Linked DNA regions of Homo sapiens: region 2 is linked to region 1. The links are contacts of gene promoters, found by promoter capture Hi-C in blood cells and fetal thymus (Javierre and others, 2016). All regions are on one chromosome and are shown on one strand. The core of a region is centred on a gene start or on the middle of the fragment in contact, and the rest is flanking DNA. Distances in the headings are between cores, read along the strand shown.

The links. Contacts are between HindIII fragments. The CHiCAGO score rates a contact against its expected background, and 5 or more counts as called.
Region 2: a fragment that was not itself captured here is called in contact with the fragment with the promoter of PLEKHA4 in region 1 in 4 of 17 cell types (erythroblasts, M1 macrophages, monocytes and 1 more); the score reaches 6.7 in erythroblasts.

The regions. Positions count from the first base shown.
Region 1 is chr19:48,863,237-48,870,700 of GRCh38, forward strand. It overlaps PLEKHA4 (pleckstrin homology domain containing A4), which reads right to left and starts at 5,381. Exons shown (of 20, transcript NM_020904.3): 1 at 4,847-5,381; 2 at 4,301-4,390; 3 at 2,267-2,374. The coding sequence starts at 4,384. The HindIII fragment of the contact is 18,917 bases long and covers 3,850-7,464 here.
Region 2 is chr19:48,982,489-48,989,952 of GRCh38, forward strand. GYS1 (glycogen synthase 1) reads right to left here. Exons shown (of 16, transcript NM_002103.5): 3 at 4,706-4,897; 4 at 3,362-3,547; 5 at 2,973-3,117; 6 at 232-349. Among named protein-coding and RNA genes, the nearest start is that of GYS1, 7.1 kb to the right of the region's middle. RefSeq lists a silencer at 5,964-6,146 and an enhancer at 7,277-7,464. The HindIII fragment of the contact is 2,950 bases long and covers 1,046-3,995 here.

The sequences.
Region 1 (7,464 bases), core at 4,131-6,630:
TTACTGTTTTTTGTTTGTTTGTTTTGTTTTGTTTTGAGATGGAGTCTCGCTCTGTCACCCAGGCTGGAGTGCAGTGGCACAATCTCGGCTGACTGCAATCTCTGCCTCCCGGGTTCAAGCGATTCTCCTGGCTCAGCCTCCTGAGTAGCTGGGACTACAGGTGCCTGCCACCATGCAGGCTAATTTAGGTTTTTTGTTTTTTTTTTTTTTTGAGACGGAGTCTTCGCTCTGTCACCCAGGCTGGAGTGCAGTGGCATGATCTTGGCTCGCTGCAAGCTCCACCTCCTGGGTTCACGCCATTCTCCTACCTCAGCCTCCCAAGTAGCTGGGACTGCAGGCGACCACCACCACGCCCGGCTAATTTTTTTTTTTTTGTATTTTTTAGTAGAGATGGGGGTTCACCGTGTTAGCCAGGATGGTCTCGATCTCCTGACCTCATGATCCGCCCACCTTGGCCTCCCAAAGTGCTGAGATTACAGGAGTGAGCCACCACGCCCAGCCTAATTTTTGTATTTTTAGTAGAGATGGGGTTTCACCATATTGGCCAGGCTTGTCTCGAACTCTTGACCTTGTGATCCACCTGCCTCGACCTCCCGAAGTGCTGGGATTACAGGCGTCAGCCATCGTGCCCAGCCCATGTACTGCTTTGCAGAGAGTTTTGAGTTTGAAGGTGCATAAGAATCACCAGGAAGGTGTGTTAAAACACAGATTCTGGGGCCCCATCCCCAGAGTTCCTGATTTGGCAAATCTATGATGGTACCTCATCATTTGCCTTTCTAGCAAGTCCCCAGATGACGCTGATGCTGCTGGTCTGGGACCACACTTTGAGAACCACTGCTCTGCTGCTCCTCCTGGCTTCTTCCCCTGGCCTCACTTGACACCAAGGTTTTGCCTGCTGCAGACCTTTTCCTTTTGGATGCGATCTGCCTCCAGGTCTTTTTTTTTTTTTTGACATGGAGTCTCACTCCATCATCCAGGCTGGAGTGCAATGGCGCAACCTCGGCTCACTGCAACCTCCACCTCCCAGATTCAAATTTTCCTTGTCTCAGCCTCCCAAGTAGTTGGGATTACAGGCACCCCCAAGCTGGCCCGGCTAATTTTTGTATTTTTTAGTAGAGCCAGGGTTTCGCCATGTTGACCAGGCTGGTCTTGAACTCCTGACCTCAGGTGATCCGCCCGCCTCAGCCTCCCAAAGCGTTTGAATTACCGGCATGACCCACTATGCTCAGCCAGCTCAAATGTCACCTCAGAGATAATTTTCCCTGACCAAATGTCAAATTGAAGTTCTCCTCTCTCAGCCACGTTCAAGCACATCATATTCCGTTTTTTTGTTTTTGTTTTTGAGACAGGGTCTCACTCTGTCACCCAGGCTGGTGTGCAGTGACATGAACACAGTTCACTGCAGCCTCAGCCTCCTGGGCTTCAGCAATCCTCCTGCCTTAGCCTCCCGAGTAGCTGGGACTATAGGCGCACACCACCACGCTCAGCTAGGTTTTGTGTGTGTGTGTATTTGTTGTTGAGATGAGGTTTCTTCATGTTGCCCAGGCTGGTCTAGAATTCCTAAGCTCAAGCGATCTTCCCGTCTTGGCCTCCCAAAATGCTGGGGTTACACCACTGAACCTGGACCCTATGTTACTTCTTCATAGCCCATCCTGCGATCTGAAATGACCAAGTCCATTTATTTATTTACTAATTTATTATCCACCCATGCTCCACCCAATCTGGAATGTAATATAAATACTTTTGTGTTATTTGCATGGTGTGTGCCCTGGGATTGGGAACACTGTAAGTGTTCAAGAAGTAGTCAAGAAAGAATGAATGAATGGGCCAGGCACGGTGGCTCACGCCTGTAATCCCAGCATTTTAGGGAGCCGAGGCGGGTGGATCACTTGAGGTCGGGAGTTTCAGACCGCCCTGGCCAACATGATAAAACCCCATCTCTACTAAAAATACAAATATTAGCTAGGCATGATGGTGCATGCCTGTAAGCCCAGCTACTCGGGAGGCTGAGGCACGAGAATTGCTTGAACTGGAGGCCAGAGGTTGCATTGAGCCGAGATCATACCACTGCCCTCCAGCCTGGGCGACAGAAAGAGACTCTGTCTTAAAAATAAATAAATAAACAAACAAACAAACAATGACGGACTAAGGGGAGGGGCAGTGATAGCAAGAAAAAGAAAGCCTATTTGGGGACTTGCAAGGAGAGAGACAGAGGACAGCCGGGGCACAGACTTCAGTGTCCTTTTCCTTCTCCTACTGACCCCACCTGCTTATGAAGCCAGCCTCGGATGTGCACGGGAAGGTTGGGATCCCTCCTGAGCGCATTGCCTCTCTTCCCAAAGGCGTGGATCTTGTTTACTGCCCGGGTGGGCTTCTGAGGAGAGAAGGGGACAGAAGTGAACAGGGAGAGCCTAGGATGGTCCTGGGAGGGGGTGAGGGTGGACACAGGCAACCGTAGGCTCTCGCTTGGCTGCCCTGAGAAATGGGTCAAGGACCAGCCGGGCGCAGTGGCTCACACCTGTAATCCCAGCACTTTCGGAGGCTGAGACGGGTGGATCACGAGGTCAGGAGATCGAGACCATCCTGGCTAACACGGTGAAACCCCGTCTCTACTAAAAATACAAAAAATTAGCCGGGCGTGGTGGCGGGCGCCTGTAGTCCCAGCTACTCGGGAGGCTGAGGCAGGAGAATGGCGAGAACCCGGGAGGAGGAGCTTGCAGTGAGCCGAGATCGCACCACTGCACTCCAGCCCGGGAGACAGAGTGAGACTCCGTCTCAAAGAAAAAAAAAAAAAGAAAGAAAGAAAAGGGTCAAGGTGGGGGCTGAAGTTGGAGATCAGAATTGGGAGGTGTTCTTATTGCAGAGTTAAGAGACTCTTTTTTTTTTGACAGGCTCTTTGGAGTGCAGTAGCCTAAACACTGCAGCCTTTACCTCCTGGACTCAGGTGATCCTCCAGCCTCAGCCTCCCATGTAGCTGGGACCACAGGCATGTCCCACCATGCCCAGCTAATTTTTTTACTTTTTGTAGGGGACGGGGGTCTCACTTTGTTGCCCAGGCTGGGAGAGACTCTTTTTTTCTTTTTCTTTTGAGACAGAGTCTCGCTCTGTCCCCCAGGCTGGAGCACACTGGCACCATCTTGGCTCACTGCAACCCCTGCCTCTCGGGTTCAAGTGATTCTCCTGCCTCAGCCTCCTGAGTAGCTGAGATTGCAGGCACGTGCCACCACGCCTGGCTAATTTTTGTATTTTTAGCAGAGACGCGGTTTCGCCATGTCAGTCAGGCTGCTCTTGAACTCCTGACCTCAGGTGATCCACCCGCCTCAGCCTCTTAAAGTGCTGGGATTATAGGCGTGAGCCACTGCGCCGGGCCGAGACTCTTTTTTTGATGGGCAGAGGGAGGTGTTCAGAGGCAAGGAAGAGGCTGTAGGGAAGCAATTTGGGGATCAAGCATCCACTGCCAAGAAGCAGATGCCCTTGGCCACCAGAGCCAGAGCTGTAGTAGGTCCTTTGGGATCTGAACTGGGACTATGGGCTGGGAGGGCCCCATAATCAGGGGGAACTCTCACGCTGAGTCTCCAGTGAATCAAAGGATGCCCTGGTGCCCTGCGGTCACACCCCTTAGCAACCAAGTACAAGGAGAGGAAGCCTCAAATCCCTCCATCCTGCCCGGATGGAGCCTCATCTCCTGATGCCCACAGATATCTCAGGCATCCTTAGCCAGGTCCCGACAATATGCCCTTCCTTGGAAGCGGTGGTACTGACCAAGGCTGAGATCAGATCTCTGGGCTCTGAACTTGAGAAACAATATGTGTGGAACGGCAGGAGGAAAAAGAAATGAGTGTCTCCCTAAGCTTTTGGCTGGGATGCCGATTTGGGATGCAAGTATCTGGAGGCCCCTTGGGTCTTATTGTCAGAGAAGGGTCTCTCCTTATAGGATTTCATTAGTGGGTAGATTGGATGGCGAGAGATAGGACAGCAAGTTCTGGCACTAATCAAGAGCAGCCACTACTTCTCAGAACTCGAGGGGCCTCATGGCTGGGGAGCGGCTTTATCTTAGCAACCAGGGTCAAGGGAGGTTGTTACTCTGGTTTAGAATTAGGAAAATACAAAGGGTGGGGACAGAGCTGGGAGTGCCTCTGAATTCCTAGCTGCGGTGTGTAGGCAATTTGGGACCTTACTATGTCTGGCAGACCCCGTTGCTAAGGATCTTTGTCCTTAACAACCAGAGTCCTTGGGGAAACAGAAGGATGGGCGGCCCAGAGCCCCACCTTCCTCCCCATCCCCGCCAGGAAGCTCAAACCTTGGGGCTCAGGCTGCTGAGCGAGGAGATGGTGGAGGCGCTGCTGGCCAGGCTCAGGCTGCTGCGAGGTCGGCTCCCCTCCATCAAGGGCTGGGGGAGAGAAAGAAAGGGGCTGTGTCTCTGCAGTGACGGGTGTGAGACAGAGATGGGGTCAGGGGCTTGGAGGTCGGAGGAGGCTGCAGAGAAAGAGCCTGTTGTTTCGGGACTTGGGGGGCTGGGGGAGGCCATGGCCCGTGACCACATACCAAGAGTGGTGCCAAGAGAGGTAGGCGGCCCTGGCAGCTGCGGGAGGGGGCAGCTGTCTGCAGCCCAGGCCAGAGAATAGGGGCTTCTTTATTCCTGCCCACTGCACTCAGGCCAGGAATTTGACCCTCTCTGTGCTTAGGGACTCCCCATTCCCTGCCTCCTTCCGGCTGCCCCAGGCTACCTGTCTCCCGCCCTCCCACATGCACCCCCAAACCACCCCTGCCAACTCCCCAAGCCAAGCCCTGCGGCACCAGGAATGTGAACCCAGAGAGCCCCTCCCAGCCCAGCCAGGGAACTTACCCAGCTCTGGGGTCCCAGTGACGGGGGGGCAAGAGGACGGTGTGGGTGCTGCGGCACCTAGGCAGTCTCCCGCCTCCTTTGTCTCTTAGCTGCTGTCTCTCATAGTTCTCAATCTCTCTCCTCACCTGCTCACTCACACTTTTTGTCTCTTTGTCTCCTGTCTCTTACGGTCTCTCTCTCTCTCTCTTCCTTTTACACTACCTCTCTCCCCACTCTCACTTTCTGTGTCTCCCTCTGATCTCTGTCTCTTCCAGTCTCTCTCTCACTCATTCTCTCCCTCTCTCTCTCTCTCCAATCTTTCTGTTTCTGTCCAAATCTTTTATTGTCAGACTCACAGGGTCTCTTCCTTAAGTCTCTGTCTCATTCTCTCTCTCTCTCTCTCTCTGTCTCTCAGTCATCCCCTGTGTCCTCTCTCCTTCACACTCAGTCTCTTCCTCTTTCTCTCTGGCTCTGCCGTTTCCTCCCTTTTCTCTTTCCGATTTCCCTTCTCACTTTCTCCCTTCCTCCCTCTCCCAGTTTCTCTTTCCTCTCTGCTGGTCTTTCCCTGCCTCTGCCAGCCGCCCACGCTGCTGTTCTCCCCTCCCAATCCCGGCTGTCCCCGCCCCTTCTGGCCTCCCCACTACAGCCTGACCTCTGGCTCAGCTGCCCCCATAGCTGAAGGGAGGGGCTTGGGCCCCCCAATTCCCAGGTCCCCTAAGGACCAAGGTTGGGACTTCTCAGTGTTTGGAGAGTTGGACTTGAGGCCTGCACTCCAGGGCCCCCGTGGGTTTGCTGCTGTGGTTGGGGGCCTGAGCCACTGGTGTCCTAAACGGAGGAGGCTTGTGTCCTGCAAGGGGTGGGGACTCAAATTTCCAAAGCCCTGGAGGGAATGGGTTAGGGATCCAGACTCCTGGGTGCCCGAGAAGGTCTGAGCTAGGATCAGGACTCCTGAGTCGTGAAAGAGCTGGGGGTCTGGAAACATGGCTGTGCTTGGAAGGGGCCAGGGACGGTTTGTCCAGGTCCCCTAGGGAGAAAAGGGGATGGTCCCAGTAGGGCAGGGTGAAATGGAGAGTTCCAAACCTCCACCTCAGATCCAGGTGAGAATTCTCTTCTAGACTGAGGACAACTCCCTCAGGAGAGAGACATGATTCCTTGGTATATTTTGAGGAACAAGATTATGCATCCGTAGGCAGGGGAGGAGAGCGGGGGGCTGGAACTGTCACCCAGGGCCTGGAACTTGTAGCAGAAGCGCCCCCACCCGCACAAAGAGTGCCACCCAGGCAGAATCGCGGCTTGTGGGGGCAGAGCTACTGCCTAAGTCTGAAGCAGATGACACCCAGGAGTGGAGCCTTGTGCCTGTGACCGGGAAGGAATCTGAGCTTTCGGTTTAACTGCCATTCACCATGCACCTGTTGAGCACCTACTGTGTGCAGGCACTGTCTGTTGCAGCCACTGAGAAGAAAGCAGTGAGCCCTGGCTGGGTGCAATGGCTCACGCCTGTAATCCCAGCACTTTGGGAGGCCAAGGCAGGAGGATCGCTTGAGACCAGGAGTTCAACACCAGCCTGGGCATCATAGCGAGACCTTGTCTCTATTTAGAAAATGAATTTCTTTTTTTTTTTTTTTTGAGGCGGTGTTTTGCTCTGTCGCCAGGCTGGAGTGCAGTGGCGTGATCTCGGCTCACTGCAACCTCCGCCTCCCGGGTTCAAGCGATTCTCCTGACTCAGCCTCCTGAGTAGCTGGAACTACAGGCACATGCCACTGCACCCGGCCTAAATTAATTATTATTATTATTTTTTTGAGACGGAGTCTCGCTCTGTCGCCCAGGCTGGAGTACAGTGGCACGATCTCAGCTCACTGCAAGCTCTGCCTCCCAGGTTCACGCCATTCTCCTGCCTCAGCCTCCCGAGTAGCTGGGACTACAGGTGCCCACCACCACGCCCGGCTAATTTATTTTGTATTTTTAGTGGAGGCGGGGTTTCACCGTGTTAGCCAGGATGGTCTTGATCTCCTGACCTCATGATCCACCTGCCTCAGCGTCCCAAAGTGCTAGGATTACAGGCGTGAGCCACCGCGCTCAGCCTAATTACTTTTTTTTGAAAAGCATTGAGCCCAGCAAAGTGCCTGATCTCATAGTGCTTACATCCTCATTCTCATTTGCAAGGAATCTGGACCCTGCTGTGACTATCTTGGTCAAGTGGCTTCATTTCCAAGCCTGTTTCCCCATCTGTGAAATGGGAACAATGACACCCTCGCACTCGGGGAGGAAACCAACCACATGTGAAAATAGGAGACTCTAGCCAGGCGTGGTGGCAAGCTCCTGTACTCCCAACTACTCAGGAGGCTGAGGCAGGAGAATTGCTTGAACCCGGGAGGCGGAGGTTGCAGTGAGCCAAGATCATGCCATTGCACTCCAGCCTGGGTGACAGAGTGAGACACCGTCTCAAAAAAAAAAAAAAAAAAAGAAAGAAAAAGAAAAAAGAAAGAAAAGAAAAAAAAAAGAAAATGGGAGACTCTAGGCTGGGGCCTGTGGGCTAAATTGGGGTAGGAGGCCAGGCACAGTGGATCACAACTGTAATTCCAGCACTTTGGGAAGCCAAGGCGGGCAGATCACCTGAGGTCAGGAGTTCAAGACCAGCC
Region 2 (7,464 bases), core at 1,271-3,770, 120 kb after region 1:
ACAGAGGCATCACGGGGCCTCCTGGGAGTTGTAGTTCTTCTCTTTAGATGGAGATTTCCTTTAATCCTGAGCCCATTGTTCCAGCGCTCAAGAATTAAGGAGGCCGAATACCCAGGTGCCCCCTCCCTCAGACCCAGGAGTCTGGGCCCCCAGCTGCCCCCTCCCCCAGACCTAGATGGTTAGGCTCCCAACGCCCTCCTCTCTTAAGACCTAGGTATATGCCCCACGTACCCATAAAAATGGCCCCGCACAAACTCCTGGATTCGAGCCTTGCTCTGAGCATGGAGGTTCTGGAACTCATGCATGGCAGAAAACTTCTTCACATTCAGCCCATTGGGGGTCACAATATCTGGGATTGGGGGTGAGGGTCCCATGTTTTATTTGTTCATTCAGATCAATGTTGTGGTTGAATGAATAAATGAAGAAAACACCCTTTGCCTTTTGCAATTTTTTTGTTTCAAGAGCGTTCCTATGAGGTCCCCCCTCCCACCTTTTTTGTTTGTTTGTTTGTTTTTGGAGACAGGGTTTCTCTCTGTCGCTCAGGCTGGAGAGCAGTGGCACAATCACAGCTCATTGCATCCCTGACCTCCTGGGCTCAAGCAATCCTCCCTCCTCAGCCTCCCGAGTAGCTGGCACTACAGGCGTGCACTACCACACCCGGCTAATTTATTTATTTTACTTTTGTAGTGATGGGGTCTTGTCATGTTACCCAAGCTGATCTCAAACTCCTGGCTTCAAGCAGTCTTCCTGCCCTGGCCTCCTAAAGTGCTGGGATTACAGGTGTGAGCCACCATGCCTGGCCAGTTCCCTTGGTGACACACCTACCCTGACTCCAAGATGCCTTCTTGCCTAATATTACTTGCTTAGGTTCACAAGCACAAGTATAAGTCTCCTCAGCTACTGCAAATGGCTAACAGGGATCTGATCCACACTGGTGATTCTGGGAAAGTTGTACTTCTTTTGTTTCCTCTTAGCCCACCCTGAGATGGAAATGATTAAACATCCCCAAAGTCCTGCTTCTCCTAGGATATATCCTCTACTTCCAAGCTTCTTACAGGGACCCAATCATTTCTTCTCCTCATAGAAATTAAAGTATATCAACGAAAAACTACAACCCCCATCAGCGCCTAGGGCAAAGTTCTGGAACATATAGAGCTAACCAGTCAAAGGCCTTCTGGGAGTTGTAGTTCTCACCTTATACTCACTGAGAACGGATACTAAGGGCTGGGAAGAATGCCCAGTTCTGACCTAACCTTTCTCAAAAGCAAAGTCCACTGATCTTCCATTCCCTTTCATAAGACCAATCTACATTAGCCAATTACAGAATTTTATCATATCTGAAATTAATATGAAAGAAATTATACCTCCCATTAGCCTCCAGAGTATATAGTCAGAGAGCCTCAAATACAGGTCACCACCCCCACAGCCTTCTGGGAGCTGTAGTTCTCTATTCTTTAGGTAAAAAAATGGTAACTGATGGTCCCCAGCTTAGGACTTAGGATGGTCCAAGTTATGATTTTTCTTTTCGAGACAGAGTTTCGCTCTTGTTGCCCAGGCTGGAGTGCAATGGCACAATCTTGGCTCACGACAACCTCTGCCTCCTGGGTTCAAGAGATTCTCCTGCCTCAGCCTCCCGAGTAGCTGGGTGGCTGGGATTACAGGCGCCTGCCACCATGCCCACCTAATTTTTGTATTTTTGGCAGAGAGGGGGTCTCACAATGTTGGCCAGGCTGGTCTTGAGCACATGACCTCAGGTGATCTGCCCACCTCAGCCTTCCAAAGTGCTGGGATTACAGGTGTAAGCCACCGTGCCCAGCCAAGTTATGATTTTTCAACCTTATGATGGTGTGAAAGTTACATACATCCACATGAGTCCAATTTTGGATTTTGATGAGATATTCAACACTTTTTTTTTTTAATTTTTTGAGATGGAGTCTCGCTCTGTTGTCCAGGCTGGAGTGCAGTGGTGTGATCTCGGCCCACTGCAACCTCCGCCTCCTGGGTTCAAGTGATTCTCCTGCCTCAGCCTCCCGAGTAGCTGGGATTACAGGCACCCACCACCACGCCCGGCTAATTTTTGTATTTTTAGTAGAGATGGAGTTTCGCCATGTTGGCCAGGCTGGTCTCGATCTCCTGACCTCGTGATCTGCCCGCCTTGGCCTCCCAAAGTGTTGGGATTACAGGTGTGAGCCACTGCGCCCAGCCTATTCAACACTTTATTATAAAATAGGTTTGTATTAAAATTAGCCAGGCGTGGTGGCAGGCGCGTATAGTCCCAGCTACTTGGGAGGCTGAGGCAGGAGAATGGCATGAACCTGGGAGGCGGAGCTTACAGTGAGCCAAGATAGCGCCACTGCACTCCAGCCTGGGCGACAGAGCGAGACTCCGTCTCAAAAATAAATAAATAAATAAAAATAAAATAAAACAGATTTGTATTGGATGATTTTGCCCAGTCGTAGGCTAACATAAAGTGTTCTGGGCACATTTAAGGTATACTAGCCTAAGCTATGATGTTCAGTAGGTTAGGTGTATTAAATGCATTTTTTTATTTTTTGAGACAGGGTCTCACTGTGTCACCCAGGCTGTGACAGGGTCTCTCCAGGCCACCCAAATCATGCAATGGCACGATCACAGCTCACTGCACCCTTGACCTCCTAGGCTCGAGCAATCCTCCCACCTCAGCCTCCTGAGTAGCTAGGGATACAGGCACACACCATGTCTGGCGAATATTTTAGACAGGGATTCGCCATGTTGCCCAGGCTGGTCTCAAATTCCCGGGCTCAAGTGGTTCTCCTGCCTTGGCCTCTCAAAGTGCTGAGATTACAGGTGTGAGCCACCATGCCCAGCCGAAATACGTTTTCGGTTTATGCTATTTCAACTTACAGTGGGCTTCTTGGGCTGAGGAGCAACTGGCTTTGGCATAGACAGCTGCCTACCTCATTCACGTCTGGGGACTTCAGCCCAGCCCCTACCTGGTTTCCTCTTGAGCAAGTGCTGTGCCTCGATGGCGGTGATCTGGGACACAGTAGTGAAGACGTGAGCGCAGTGGGCTGCCGCCCTTTCCATGCAGTATCGGTGGTAGATCTGCCTCTCCCCTGCTTCCTTGTCCACGTTGAACTGGGTGGGAGGGGACAGCAGTCCGGTTAGAAGGATTGGGGAGAAGACTCTGGAGGTCCAGACACTGGGGTCCCAAGAGAAATTGGTGCTGGGGGCTGGATTCCTGGGTCTGAGGTAGGAGGGGTCTGGGGACTTGGACTCCTGGATCCTGGGAGAAGAGGGGGTGCCATCCCCTTGGGCCCCCCAGAGCTTTGGGTTTTCCTGGCATACTCGCAGTCCCCCATCTGCCACGGTCCCAGCTCACGTTCTCCAGGTTGTTGTAGAAGTCCACGGCACCGGCACACAGGTAGCGCCCCAGCAGCGTGGCATGGGTGGTGAAGATGGTTGCTACAGGCAGTCGCCGGGCACGACACAGGCAGAGTCCAACGCCTGCCAACCACTCATGGAAGTGAGCAACCACATGTGGCTTCTCCTCACTCTGTGCCAGGAACTGTGGGCAACAGGGACAGGGCCACTGTCTCCACGAGTGTTGGGAAAAGAATCGGCAATCCCCAGTAGGGACAAGGACTCGGGGAGAGGTCAATCTGTCACCACTACTGCACAGAGTGGGCAGCGGCCCACTGCAGCAATCCCAACCGGACAGGGACCTGTAAATCCCTGAGGCAGCCCAGGCTGGTCTTGAACTCCTGGGCTCAAGTGACTGCCTCCTCAGGGGTTGACAGGAACTGAGGATTTTTTGGCCAACCATCTAAGTCCTGGCAGGGTTAGATTGGACAGACTGAAGTTTTCATGTTCCCAGGTCCTGGACATAGTTTCCAAAGACCCCTTGTCTCAAGGGTACGCTGTCTGCACCCAACATTGGCAAAGGGACTACAACTCCCAGAATGCCATAGGAGCAGCCAGTTCCTCAATTATTTGTCCCAGGGCATGAGAAATTAAGCTTCTTTTTTTTTTTTTCTTTTTCTTTTTTTTTTTGAGACAGTGTCTCACTCTGTGGCCCAGGCTGGAGTGCCGTGATGCAATCTCAGCTCACTGCAATTCCCGCCTCCCAGGTTCAAGCAATTCTCCTGTCTCAGCCTCCCAAGTAGCTGGGATTTGGGATTACAGGTGCCCACCACCACACCCAGCTAATTTTTTTGTATGTTTAGTAAAGACGAGGTTTGGCCATCTTGAACTCCTGGCCTCACGTGATCTTCCCCCATCGGCCTCCCAAAGTGCTGGGATTACAGGCATGAGCCACCGTGCCCAGCCTGGAAACTAAGCTTCTTGAGCCTCTTAAAACCTAGAAGGGGGTCAAAACCAGGTCAGGCTGGGGATTCATGAGCATCCAGGGCAGCATCTGAGAGCTGAGTCCAGCAATATCACACTAGAGAACTACAACTCCTAGAATTCCTCGGGCAAGCCCGCCAGCCTCACTTTGAGGCTGATTCCAAGAATCCCTATGCTTGGAAGACTAGAGTAAATGAAGTTGGCATCGAGAGTAGAGCCTGGGCCCTTGGATGTTCATGTCCTCAAAGGCCAGAGCTAATCCTTGGATTAAAGGACCCTATGACTCCCAGAATGCCCAGGGAGAAGCCCATCCTCTGGCCCAGGGGCTGATGGTCATTGTAGTTTCAGGTATGGGTGGAATGTGTCAGACGGGGCCTACCTCACCCAGGAACCAGGTGGTCAGAAAGCCAAAGAGGACAGCGTCGTTGGCCTCGCGGTCGTACCACGGCACTCCGATGTTGCAGGTATCCCAGAGCTCTCCCTTCCAGCGCTCCAGGGCCCAAGCTGAGGCACCCACGTCCAGGAGCACCACCAGAGGGCCTCCCTCGATCAGCCAGCGCCCGAAATACACCTGGGATGGGGTTGGGGAGGCACCATAGGGAGGCTCTGGGCTTCAGCCTCATATCTTCACTCATCCGTGGTTCTCCCATTTGCAGGCAGATGTCTATAGACTTAAGCCTCAGCTCTCTTATCTTCTGTTTCCATATCTGCTGCTAATTTCTCACCTGCTGCCTTAGCCTTACTTCTCTATTTGCATGATTTATTCCTGCTACACATTTTTTCCATCTCTGTTGCAATATTTTCCGTGCCCCCTGCTTACTTTCTTTCTTTCTTTTTTTTGAGATGGAGTCTCACTCTGTGGCCCAGGCTGGAGTGCAGTGGTGCGATCTCAGCTCACTGCAACCTCTGTCTCCCGGGTTCAAGCAATTCTCCTGCCTCAGCCTCCCAAGTAGCTGGGATTACAGGCACCCGCTCCCACACCTGGCTAATTTTTTTTTTTTCTTGAGACGGAGTCTGGCTCTGTTGCCCAGGCTGGAGTGCCGTGGCATGATCTCGGCTCACTGCAACCTCTGCCTCCTGGGTTCACACCATTCTCCTGCCTCAGCCTCCCGAGTAGCTGGGACTACAGCGGCCCGCCACCACGCCCGGCTACTTTTTTTTGTATTTTCAGTAGAGACGAGGTTTCACTGTGTTAGCCAGGATGATCTCCATTTCCCGACCTTGTGATCCGCCCGCCTCGGCGTCCCAAAGTGCTGGGATTACAGGCGTGAGCCACCGCACCCAGCCTCCTGTTTAATTCCTGTAACTGCTACCCTTCTCCCACTCGCTGCCTCCTTTCTCTGCTTATAACCACATATGTCACATGTCCTGTGTCTATGCCCCCACTGCCCTGTCTGGCCACTCTGCAAATCATTTCCCCTACCTGCTGCCTTGTTTCTGTACTTGCTGCCACATTTCTCTTACCAACCATCTGCATCTCCCACTGTCTTTTCTTTCTGATGCTAATTCCTTCCACGGGATGCTTCTTTTTTGTTTTCAGACAGGGTCTCGCTCTGTTGCCCAGGCTGGAGTGCAGTGGTGTGAACATGGTTCACTATAGCCTCAACCTCCCTGGCTCAGTCAATCCTCCCACCTCACCTCCTACAGGCGTGGGCCACCATGCCAGGCTGATTTTTTAATTTTTTGTGGAGATGGGGTCTCACTATGTTGCCCAGGCTGATCGTGAACTCCTGCGTTCAAGCAGTTTTCTTGCTTAGCCTCCCAAAGTGTTGAGATTAGAAGTGTGAGCCACCTAAAGCAGGCCCTTTTTTATTTTCAGAGACGGGGTCTTGCTCTGTCCTCCAGCCTGGAAGGGAGTGGTGCAATTACGGTTCACTGAAGCTTCGATCTCCCAGGCTCAAGCAATCCTTCCACCGCAGCTTCCCACGTAGCTGGGACCACAGGCACAAGGTATCACATCCCGGCTAATTTTTAACTTTTTTGTAAGGACAGGGTTTCACCATGTTGCCCAGGCTGGTCTCAAACTCCTGGCCTCAGCCTACCAAAGTGCTGGGATTACAGGCGTGAGCTACTGCACCCAGCCTGTAATGATTCTCTTACTGTTCATGCTGCCACTTTTCTTCCCCATGATGCCTTGTTTCTGTTCCTTTCATCACATATCTGTCACCTGCGACCTCTTTCCTCTATCCATAGGCCCATTTTGTAGTCCACAGCCTCCTTCCTTCCTTCCTTGCTTCCTTCCTTCCTTCCTTCCCTCTCTCCCTCCTTCCCTCCCTCTCTCCTTTTTCTTTCTTTCTTCCATTTTTTTTTGTTTGTTTTTGTTTTTGACAGGGTCTCACTCCGGTCACCCAGGCTGGAGTGCAGTGGTGCAATCATGGCTCACTGGGCTGGGCGCGGTGGCTCACGCCTGTAATCCTAGCTCTTTGGGGGGCCGAGGCGGGCGGATTGCCTGAGCTCAGGAGTTTGAGACCAGCCTGGGCAACATGGTGAAACCCTGTCTCTACTAAAATACAAAAAATTAGCCGGGCGTGGCAGCATGTGCCTGAGGTCCCAGCTACTTGGGAGGCCGAGGCAGGAGAATTGCTTGAACGCGGGAGGCGGAGGTTGCAGTGAGTCGAGATTGTACCACTGCACTCCAGACTCAGCGACAGAGTGAGATTCTATCTGAAAAAAAAAAAAAAAAAATTATGGCTCACTACAGCCTCCACATCCCATCCTCCCACCTCAGCCTCCTGAGTAACTGGGATCACGAGCACGCACCATCATGCCTGGCTAATTTTTTGTATTTTTAGTAGAGACAGAGTTTCGCCATGTTGCCCAGGTGGGTCAGGAACTCCTGGGCTCAAGCTATCCTCTCACCTCGGCCTCCCAAAGTGCTGGGATTCCAGGCATGAGCCACCGCCCTCGGCCACGCCACACATTTCTAACATAGCCCATCCTCTGTCCGTGCCCCAGGGCTGCATTTTTCTAGCCACTGCCGTGTTTCTAAGACTTGCTGTCTCACTTCTGCCTCTGCCACATTTCTCCAGTTGGCTGTTTTCCTCCCTGAGACCATGGCTTTGGTTCTGGGCCTGCTGCCACAGCAGTGGAGAAGCAGCCCCGCTCCTCGCCGACCTGGCTTTTTGCTGCCTGGAGCCT